Regions from separate parts of the Homo sapiens genome. Here region 2 is linked to region 1. The links are contacts of gene promoters, found by promoter capture Hi-C in human tissues and cell types (Jung and others, 2019). All regions are on one chromosome and are shown on one strand. The core of a region is centred on a gene start or on the middle of the fragment in contact, and the rest is flanking DNA. Distances in the headings are between cores, read along the strand shown.

Region 1 (5,609 bases), core at 1,401-3,900:
CAGCAGGGCAGCTCTGAGGCCTTGCGTAAGCCCCAGAGACAGGCAGGTAAACAGTGATCAAGGGCCAGGCAACATGGAGTCCAGGGCCTGCGCCCTCACCAATGCCTGACCCTACTTTTCTCTCCCCTATCACATGTCCAGGGCTCTCCTCACCAACTGTACTCCAGGAAGAGACCAGACCACAAGTTGATTCAGGTGCATCTGTCTGCTTCTGCCTTTCCTGCCTGCAAGGAGTGGGAGAACACTCTACACCTGTACCAGACAGCCACTTCTCCCTGAGTTACTCATTAGCCTGCCCTGCCCCAATTCCATCACCTCTGGCCCAGCCATATGCATCTGGTTTCCAACTAGGAGTGACAGGGTATCTGGACTTCTGGCAGGAAGTGGGGGTGGGGTGGTTTCGGGTGTGTGGAGGAAGGACTGATTCACATAGGGCCAGGCAATATGCTTGATGCTAAATAATTGGCAGATTTAGAAAACGGGAGAACTTGAGGTATAGAGATTAGAATCCCCTCAGAGGAAACAAGGAAAGCAAATGGTCGAAATAGAAAAGGACAGCTCAGTGACCTTGATGATTTGGCACCCTTTTTCTCATAGTTAGAGATAAGAAGGTTCCCCGTGGATCCAAAAAGAATCCCCCAAGTGGACTCCTGCCCAGGTCCGCTGAAAGAGCAGAAACCTGAGAGCCAGGCTACAGCTGCTTGGCCAGTAGGGAAAAAAACACAATGAGGAACTGGGCCCCTGCAAACTGGCTGGACTGGTTTGAGAGGCAAGGGGAAGGGGAGGGCCGGGGAAACTACACTGGCAGCTTGTAAAGCAGACCAGAGAAATTCCACACCACGGAGGAGGCAGAGGGGCAAGACCACAGGCAGGGGCTCTCCAGCCTTGATGGCAAAGCCAAAGCTCTGAAGGAGAGGACAGAGGGCAGGGAGGGAACAGGCAGGAGGAGCAGATGAACAGGAACCTGGTGACAGGCCAGTATGTGACAGGGAGACTTTGTCTCCCTCCACCCCTCCCTTTGAGGTTCCCAAAGTTGCATTCCTGATCCCACACTTGCTTTGGCCACCTCCCTGGTCCTCAGTCCGCCCCTCCCTGGCACAAAGAGAAGAGCCCTACACCCCCATCACCTCCCACAAGGGGAATGGCATGCAGGCCAGCCTGGGAAACACAGGAAGGGTTCTAGGAAGCCAGAATCCTCTTAGAGTCGGGCAAATCTCTGGATTAGCAGTCCCCCAGAGCCAGCCCCCAGACTCCCAAACATCCAGGATGAAAGAAGAGATGCATAGGCATGTGTAGGCAGCCCATCTACAAACATAGCGGTTGCTAATTATTTCCCAATTACAACAACCTTCCTCAGGCAGGGCTTCAAAGGGGCCAAGCTAAGGTTGACTCTAGTTCCTTTACCTGCCTAAGGCAAAGAAATTTGCCTCCAGTCTTGTCTGGGCCCCAAGGTGCACCTTTCATCTGTCCTGGGGATTTGGAGTTGTAATTTCCCTAGTCTCGTGGTCTCCTGATGAGTCCTGCCTATTTCCTGCCCCAATAGTGCCTGCTGCCATTCTGACAGCCACCGCAGTTCAGGAGTCAGGGATGCCTGGAGGGCGTTCAGGGAGTAATGGGGATTCCTCCAGACATCAAGGAAATTGGTTGGGCTCCCAAACCTCATCCAATGGTCCCCATCTAGAACCACAGAAAAAATATGTGGGTACTTGGAGAAAGGGTTTGACATCCGCCCCCAGAAAGGGGCCTCCTGAGAAATAAGTATTAATATTTATCAATATTTTGCAGGACCAGGCAGGGCTCTTTGCTTCCTCATATCCCTCTCTTGGGGAGTACTCTCTCTCTCTCTCAAGAGGAAGAAGGAACGATTCTCCCTGGCACGAAAGCAAAGGACACAAAGTGAAAGCCTAATGGTTGTACACCTGGTGAAGAGATGAGGGTGCCCTCTCATCTGCCCCTCAGTGTCTCTGATTCGCAACTGCCTTCGGCCGGAGGTGAAGGGCTGGGGAAAAAATCCCACACCTCAGAGTCATCTCAAAGCCACCAGGGTGCTGACAACGGCCAGCTGAGACCGCAGGACGCAGGAAAGACCCTCAGGCGAGCAGCACCTGCAGATGCCCTCCCCTGGCGAGTCTGCACCTCAGGCAGCAGCAGTTCCCGACTCAGCTGGAACTAACTCCTTCCCCGCGCCACCGCTGTCTCCAAGAGAAATTCTGCCCCTAGGGCTGGCGTCTGACCTCCAGAGACATCTGGCGCTGAAACGCTTTCATGCGCTGGGAACAGCCTTCGCCCCAGGTGCCCCTCGCCTGGCACCTTCCTAGCCACCTGCATCTGGCACCTCAGGGTAGGGGTCGGCTCTTAATCAGTACCCCACCCCGCCCCAATCTCCCCTCCTCCCGTCTCCCACTCGGCACCGGTGCCCTGGAGAGGGGCATCTCACACCGCCTCGATGCCTGCCCCTCAAAGGTACCCCTGAAGGCTCGCTTTCCTCTCGGGTGCCCTGGCCCGCACCGGGTCCACTCACCCTAGCCGGGCTCCGCGCTCCCAGGCTTGCGTTCGGGCTCGGGCTCGGGCTCGGGCTCGGGCTCGGGCTCGGGCTCGGGCAAAGCAGCACGCGCAGCTCCGGCCCTCCCCCTCGTCCTCGGAGCTCCCTCCTTTCTCTCCCTCCCACCAACCTGTTACTCCGCTGCGGAGCTCCACCCCCGCGGGCCGTCAGTGCCCGCCCCGCCTTTCCCCGCTCCGGTTGGTCCGCTTCCCGTAGGGGGCGGGGCCTCCGGTGCGGGGACCGGGACCCGGGGTCTCCAGCCGCGAAGGGCGGGCCAGGTCACGTGGACCCACGGGCTGCGGAGCGTCGGGGCGGGGCGGCGAGGGGCGCGGAGGCCATTTTGGGGGCGTCGCGGATGGTCGCGAGTGACCGCCGGCCAAGATCCCGGGAGCCGTCGGCCAGAGCATCTTCTGGGCTCTGCTAGAAAACAGCCTCCTGCCTCCCGTTTACTCCAAGGGAATCGCCGGCCAGGGCCCTTTCTGTCCTTCACCTACCTCTGCAGGAACCAGAATGCTCTTTCGTCACTTTCTGCAGAAAATATCTCCGTTGTCCCCCGACGTCAGAGCCTCCTGCACCTCAGCTCGTCTCCCTTTTCCCTGACCCGAACCAGAACCCTGATCTTGGATTCTCTTTTATCTTGTGGCCTCCGCAATCATTTTGCAGCCTGACATCTTTTTCTATGTAATATTTATCACCTTCTAGTTAATAACATAATTTTAAAAATCATTTTCATCATTTTGCCTCCCGTCCTACGATAAGCTTCACCAGAGCAAGGATCTCTTGTTCTGTGCCTTGCTTCACCCCAAACGCCTACAACAGGGACTGGTACATACTACATGCTTAATAAATATTTGTTGACTGAATGAATGGAAACCGGGGACGCAAATTTACCAAAATAGGAATGACCTTCGTTCTAAACTGAAAGGGACTCAGTTGTAAATTTACCTCAGAGTTAGCCTCTCAAAAAGTAGGGATGCTGATCCCAGTTCCTAGAAAAGAGTAAAAACTAGGGGCTCTGCAAACTGCAGGACCGCTCATACCAGCTGCAGTTAAAACAACATTAAAGCTGGCATCCTAGCTGTTAACCGTTGAGATATGTAAAAAAGAGATTGACTTCGTTTACGTTGCTGGGCTCCGGATTTTGTTCTCATTTAGTTACAACAAATATTTACCCTGTATCTATTGGAGTAGAAGAGGAATCTTCGATGCAGCACAGATTCCGGTGTATTCTCGGGAGCTGGTTTCCGCCCCTCCCCAAGCCTTCAAAAGCTAGGTGTGGGTCCTACAGAGTAAAGTCCACTTACCAGCTCCTCAGCTGGGATGCAAAGTCTCTGCATTCCAGAGCAAGCTGTATATAAGGATTAGGGCCATCAAACCGGCCTGTTCCCTGGGGAGGAACAGCAAAAAACATGTAGTGGGGGTGGGGACAGAAGAGGAAATGTCCTTCCAGGAGCGCACCTCCTGAACACTGGGTGGCTTTTAAAAGACTTTTTTTTAAAAAATTTTTTCTTATTTTTCTTTTATTGTGCAGCCTCCTGAACCAGAATAGGTTCAGAGACACTCCCATGGGATGGTTTTTGGTTTGGGTTTTTTTTGTTGTTTTTTTTTTTTAAGACGGAGTCTTGCTCTATCGCCCAGGCTAAAGTCCAGTGGCGCAATCTCGGCTCACTGCAACCTCCGCCTCCCAGATTCAATTGATTTCCGGCTAATATTTTGTATTTTTTAATAAAGACAGGGTTTCACCAGGCTGGTCTTGAACTCCTGTCCTTAAGTGATCTGCCCACCTTGGCCTCCCAAAGGGCTAGGATTACAGGCGTGAGCCACCACACCCAGCCTGTTTTGGGTTTTTTTGTTTTTGTTTTTGCTTTAGTTTTGTTTTTTTCATTGAGACGGAGTCTCACTCTGTCACCCGGGCTGGAGTGCAGTGGTGCAATCTCTGCTTACTGCAGCCTCAGCCTCCAAAGCTCAAGCGATCCTCCCACCTCAGCCTCCTGAGTGGCTGGAACTTCAGGCGCCCACCACCACACCGGGCTAATTTTGGCATTTTTAGTAGAGATGGGGTTTCCATGTTGTCCAGGCTGGTCTTGAACTCCTGAACTCAAGCGAACCGCCTGCCTCGACCTCTCAAAGTACTGGGACTACAGGAGTGAGCCACCACGCTCGCCCCCACCAAGTGTTTGTAAGGAGATTTTTTTTTTTAATGTGGGATATTAAATTGACTCAGATATTGGAAAGGCGGAAGCGCCTAAACTCCCCTAGATAACACCTTAGCAATTAGGATACTTAGTATATTTGTAGTAAATACCAATTTGGGTGGTTACCCAGCACCATGAACACGAATTACAAGGATAAGTGGGAGCCTCTGAGTCACCGCCTTCGTCATCTGTTCTTCAAGGAAGCACTCAGTCTGAGAGGTACATCCAGGCACAAGTGACAAAGGCGACACCCTGGTCTTTTTCCAGAGTTCAGAAGACAGGTGATCCCTCTCCTTAAGAAATGCTACAGGGCCAGGCGTGATGACTCATGCCTCTAATCCCAGCACTTTGGGAGGCCAAAACAGGAGGATAGCTTGAGCCCTGGAGTTGGATCGCTTGAACCCAGGAATTCAAGACCAGCCTGGGCAACACAGTGAGACCCCATCTTTATAAAAAATAATAATAATAAAATTTTTTCAAAAAAGAAATGGCAAAATTGGCCAGTTTATAAATACAGCAAAAACAGAATTTATAGCAAATATAATACCCAGAAAGAAGAAATAACACTGATAGATGTTAAAGAGAGAAGTTTTATTTTATGAAATGGGATAATAGAGAAAGTTTTAGGTAAATTGCAGGTTTCATCAAAGAAGTGGATTTGCCATCCTCGCTAACATGGTGAAACCCCGTCTCTACTAAAAATACAAAAAATTAGCTGGGTGTGGTGGTGGGCGCCTGTAGTCCCAGCTACTTGGGAGGCTGAGGCAGGAGAATGGCCTGAACCCAGGAGGCGGAGCTTGCAGTGAGCTGAGATCTAGCCACAGCACTCCAGCCTGGGCGACAGAGCGAGACTCCATCTCAAAAAAAAAAAA
Region 2 (5,346 bases), core at 194-2,693, 79 kb before region 1:
TTATTTATTGCTGATGGCAATGATAATAGCTGGCATTTGACTCTCCCGTAAGGAGGATATTGGTCCCAGAATCTGTCTCTTCCTCATTCCCTAGGGCCAACTAAGAAAGAAAATGAAAACAATAATTTAAAAAAAAAAACAAACAGAAATGCCTCTTTATGATGAAAAAAATACAGGTTTCTTCTAAATCAGGGCTGTTCAATCTTTTGACTTCCCTGGGCCACAATGGAAGAAGAAGAATTATCTTGGACTACACATAAAATACACTAACACTAACAATAGACAATGAGCTTAAAAAAAACTGCAAAAGAATCTCAATGTTTTAAGAAAGTTTACAAATTTGCATTGGGCCACATTCAAAGCCATCCTGACGCGGCCCAGGATGGCTTGATTGAATAAACTTGTTCTAAATCAGTAAGCACGTATTAACCATCTACTTTGTGGCACTATTAGGGCTAGGCACTGTGGAATTAGAGATATCCCTGACCTTTAAAAGCTTGCAGTCTCTCTGGGGAAACAAACACATGCAAAGTCCGAATTATAATGGAAGACAGTACATTATGACATCCTACAACAGGGTAATACAGATGATCTGTGTTGAGCAGAAAGGGAACACAACACAGGCTTGAGAATTCTGGGAGGGCTTCACGAAAGAGAACACAGGTTAAGTCTTGAAGAATGAGGAACTTTCTTTGATGTTATCTTTCATTATTTCCTCTCCTTTTCTCCTACACCAGTTGGTCAGTCACCAAGGCCTATCAGTTCTTTCCCAGTGACTCTCACACCACCAGTCCCTTTCTTTCCAGTCCAGTGGCCATTATCGCAGTTCAGCCCCTCATTGCTTCATGCCTGGAGGTGCCCTAACATCTATTACTTGTTTCCTTGCTGCCAGCCTTTACCTTTTCAATCCATGCTCTTTGCCTCTTTGGGATTAGCCTTCTTATTTTATCATGTCACTCTAGTGATTCATTCATTCCAACTTCTCTTCAACTAATATTTATTGTGCATCTACTATGTGCCAGGGGCCACTCTTCTAGATACTAGGGATTCAGTGTTGAACAAGACAGGCAAGAAAAATCCCTGCCTTGACAGAACTTACATACTAGTTTAAACAAAAACAAACAAAAACCTCTAATGGAGACCTTTCACTTTAAAGATTAGAGTCCAGGCTGGGTGTGGTGGCTCATCCCTGTAATCCCAGCACTTTGGGAGGCCGAGGCAGGCAAATCACTTGAGGTCAAGAGTTCAAGACCAGCCTGGCCAACGTGGTGAAGCCCTGTCTCTAAAATTACAAAAATACAAAAATTAGCCAGGCATGGTGGTGCGCACCTGTAATCCCAGCTACTTGGGAGGCTGAGACAGGAGAATCGTTTGAACCAGGGAGTAGGAGGTTGCAGTGAGCTGAGATTACACCACTGCACTCCAGCCTGGGTGACAAAGCAAGACACCGTCTCAAACATAAAATAAAATAAAGTAAAAATAAGAATAAAGATTAGAGTCCAGACTCTTCCCAGAAGGCCCACTCCATTTGTCTCTCCTTGCCCTCTTGCCACTTTCCCAAAGGTCTCTTCAGCTGGGCTCACCATCCCCCACATATGCCACATTCATTTCCAACTCAAGCTTTCTTCCTGCCGATCTACCTGCCCAAATCCTTCGGAGCCTAGTTCTAGCTCCACAGCCTCTCCACCCTTCTCTCATATTAGCATTTCACATGTTCCATGACTATTCACCTATTTCACATGCTGCTGTTTTTCTCCCATCCATCTGACAAGTGCAAACTTCTGGAAGGCTACAACCCTGTTCTATATTTTCCATCCAGACATCCCCTACGGTACCTGGCTCAATATCATGCAAATAATAGGTTCTTTCTCTTCCTCCTCCTCCTCTTTTTCCACCTAACAATAACAAGTAACATCTGTGAAGCACTTTACAAAAGTGTTTTCAAATACATTATCTTGCATAAGCTATACAATACCCTTGATTCGATTATCAGTAAATATTTAATGGATTAATAGGTCAAAAGAGGAAGGCATTGCTGGTAAAAGAAATAACACCAGCAATTGTACAAAGACAGGAATGATCCCAGTATGTGCAGAAGGCAGTGAGAACACAGCCTAGCTGGAGAGAGAGTAAACACTCTAGAAAATTTAGATAAAAGAATAAAGGTAACAGAAGACAAAAACAAAGGCAAAACCCACCCCGCTAACATGATTAGCATTTAGGTATATTTATTTCTAGGCTTTCCAGAAACATTTTGTTTTGCAAAGCTGTCATAAATGTTCATAAAATTTTGTGTCCTACTTTTTTCATTTAACATTCTAAGCACTGCTCCCTGATGCGACATAGTCTTCATAACAGCCATTTGTAGTGAATGCATAATGTCCCAGAGTGACTGCATCCTCATTTACTTACCCATTTCTCTATTGTTGGACACATGTTGTTTCCCATTTTATATGATTATAATAAGCACTGCAACAAACCTCTTCTGCAGAGAGAAGAAATGAAAAGAAGCTGGGTATTTGGTGAGACCTCAAGCTTCTCTATGCAGGCTCACTTGAGTCTAAAGTGTCTCTGAACTTTTCTGTCACCTCAACCAGAAACACTGGTCCTTTGTTGTTTAAACCAATTGCAGTCACATTTTCTCCAACTTTTAGCCCATGTTATCCTACCTAACACAAGATGTTTGAGGGCAAGAGCAAAGTTGTATTGTTCGCTGCTGTGTCCCTACCTGAATCCTTGGTCAAAGACACGGTGGCCTGTAGAGAGCAGGAGCTTAATAAATATGTGCATTAAAAATAATACGAATTTATTTACTTATTTTTGAGATGGAGTCTCGCTCGGTCACCCAGGCTGGAGTGCAGTGCCACAATCTCAGCTCGCTGCAACCTCTGCCTCCTGGGTTCAAGCGATCCTCCTGCCTCAGCCTCCTGAGTAGCTGGGACTACAGGCACGCACCACCACGTCCAGCTGATTTTTGTATTTTTAGTAGAGACAGGGTTTCATCATGTTGGCCAGGATGGCCTCGAACTCCTGACCTCAGGTGATCCACCCACCTTGGCCTCCCAAAGTGCTGAGATTACAGGCGTGAGCCACCACGCCTGGCCAGAATATGAATTTTTTGATGAACTATTCTTTTCCTGACCACTGATCTAGTAAAATCTTAGTAATTGTATCAATTTGTTTGAGCTGATCAATAAAAATGTTGCCTGTTCACCACATTTGTCACTAATAATTCTTCATTCTTTGGGCCTTTAGTTTAATTCAGAAATTTTACATTTTTATGAACTAAAAATATGTTCCTTCATGACCTTCAATACTAACATTCTAAATGTATTTCCTTTTGGATTTGATATTCAATTTTATTTTCTTGTAGTTTTTCTACAATTTGTAATATTTAATTAATTTATATAGAATTTAGGTATGCTGTTTAGTTTCTTTTTCCCAATTATTATTCTTATTATTTTGAGATGGAGTCTCACTCTGTTGCCCAGGATGGAGTGCAGTGTCACGAACTTGGCTCACTGCCACGTCTGCCTTCTGGGTTGGAGCAATTCTCCTGCCTCAGCCTCCTGAGTAGCTGGAATTACAGGTGTGCACCACCATGCCTGGCTGATTTTTGTATTTTTAGTAGAGACAGGGTTTTGCCATGTTGGCCAGGCTAGTCTTGAACTGACCTCAGGCGATCCACCCTCCTCGGCCTCCCAGGGTGCTGGGATTACAGGCATGAGCCACCGCGCCCAGCCTTTTCCCAAATTTTTAACCAACTGTTCAAATACCTTTTTCCCCGTTAAGTTGCAATGCTGCTTTTATCCTTTTTAAATGCTTATACTGTATAATTGAGTCTATTTCTGCCTAGCTAGTCTCTTAAATTGATGTATAAGCTATATAATGTTTTGCTATTTGCCAAGGCTAATAATCCTCCCAAATTAGCTCTGCCTTCCAAATTTTCTTTACCATTTTCCCATTTATTCTTCCAGATGAAATTTTAAAATAATTATATCCAGTTCTAAAAAGACTCTATTGAATTACAATGTAACTCACTGTAATTACACAAAGCCTAAAAATAAAGAATTGACATCTTTACAATTTTAATTTTCCATCCAGGAAAATTTTTCTTCATTGTTTTCCCATCTTTCTCCACAAAATGTGGTCATTTTCTTCACATAGGTCATTGACATTTCAAATGAAGCTTATGCCTAGGTATTTTCTATCTCTTGTTATATTTTATGTTGTTTTCTAATTGAGATACTGCTGGTGTGTGTAGGAAAACTTGCTACTTGCCAAGACAGCCCACCCTCCTCGAATTGTCAATGGATTCTTTTGTTTCTTGGCTATCTCCCTGCAACCACCCCACACCATCCAGATTCTGCCCTCTGGAGCAAAACTGCTGCTGCTCCTCCCAAGAGACCAACCTTCATCTTTTTGGAAACTGCTATCATCCTCCTTTTGTCCTGGCTAAATAGCCCTGACTGACAGAAAGAACACTGCATTCCAGGAAGATTCAAATGACAGTGGTGGGGAGGGTAGATGTGGGGCAGGTAAGAGGCTAGAGGTAGAGATCAGCAAGGACTGGCTTCAGTGGTCATCTAGGCTTCAAGAGATGAGTTGAGACTGTCAACATGGGAAGGCACACTTCTGAAATATATTCTTTTTTTTTTTTTTTTTTTTTTTTTTAGCAGAGTCTCGCTCTGTCTCCCAGGCTGGAATGCAATGGCGCAATCTCAGCTCACTCCTGGGTTCAAGCGATTGTCCTACTTCAGCCTCCAAAGTAGCTGGGATTACAGGCGTGCGCCATCACACCCAGTTAATTTTTGTATTTTTAGTAGAGATGGGGTTTCGCTGTGTTGGTCAGGCTGGTCTTGAACTCCTGACCTTAGGTGATCTGCCCGCCTTGGCCTCCCAAAGTGCTGGGATTACAGGCATGAGCCACCACGCCCAGCCCCTGAGAGATATTTCAACAGAGGAAACGTGAGGACCTGTTGACAAACTGGATATAAGGGATAAAGGGACAGGGAGCAGTTTGGAAGGAAGTCCATTTTGGACCTCGATCCTGAGATTACAATACAGCCAAGGACAGAGGTCTGTCCTCTAAGCCAGTGTTCTTCAGATTTGTTCCCACAGTAAGAAATATATTGTACATAGCAGGCCAGTTCACACACAAGCACATATGGACAGATATAAAACAGACACAGGGCCGGGCGTCATGGCTCACACCTGTAATCCCAGCGCTTTGGGAGGCCGAGGAGGGCAGCTCACCTGAGGCCAGGAGTTCAAGGCCAGTCTGGCCAACAGGGTGAAACCGTGTTTCTACTAAAAATACAAAAATCAGCCAGGCATTGTGGCACA

The links. Contacts are between HindIII fragments. The study calls those that stand out against the background at their distance.
Region 2: a contact is called between a fragment that was not itself captured here and the fragment with the promoter of CGN in region 1, in 2 of the 25 tissues and cell types used here (IMR-90 fibroblasts and spleen).

Annotation. Positions count from the first base shown.
Region 1 is chr1:151,508,428-151,514,036 of GRCh38, reverse strand. CGN (cingulin) reads right to left here and starts at 2,650. Exons shown (of 21, transcript NM_020770.3): 1 at 2,522-2,650. RefSeq lists enhancers at 115-690, 691-1,267, 2,130-2,269, 2,421-2,996, 2,997-3,573 and a silencer at 2,600-2,999. The HindIII fragment of the contact is 12,501 bases long and covers 1-5,609 here.
Region 2 is chr1:151,586,521-151,591,866 of GRCh38, reverse strand. No RefSeq gene overlaps it. Among named protein-coding and RNA genes, the nearest start is that of SNX27, 23 kb to the left of the region's middle. The HindIII fragment of the contact is 3,838 bases long and covers 1-3,362 here.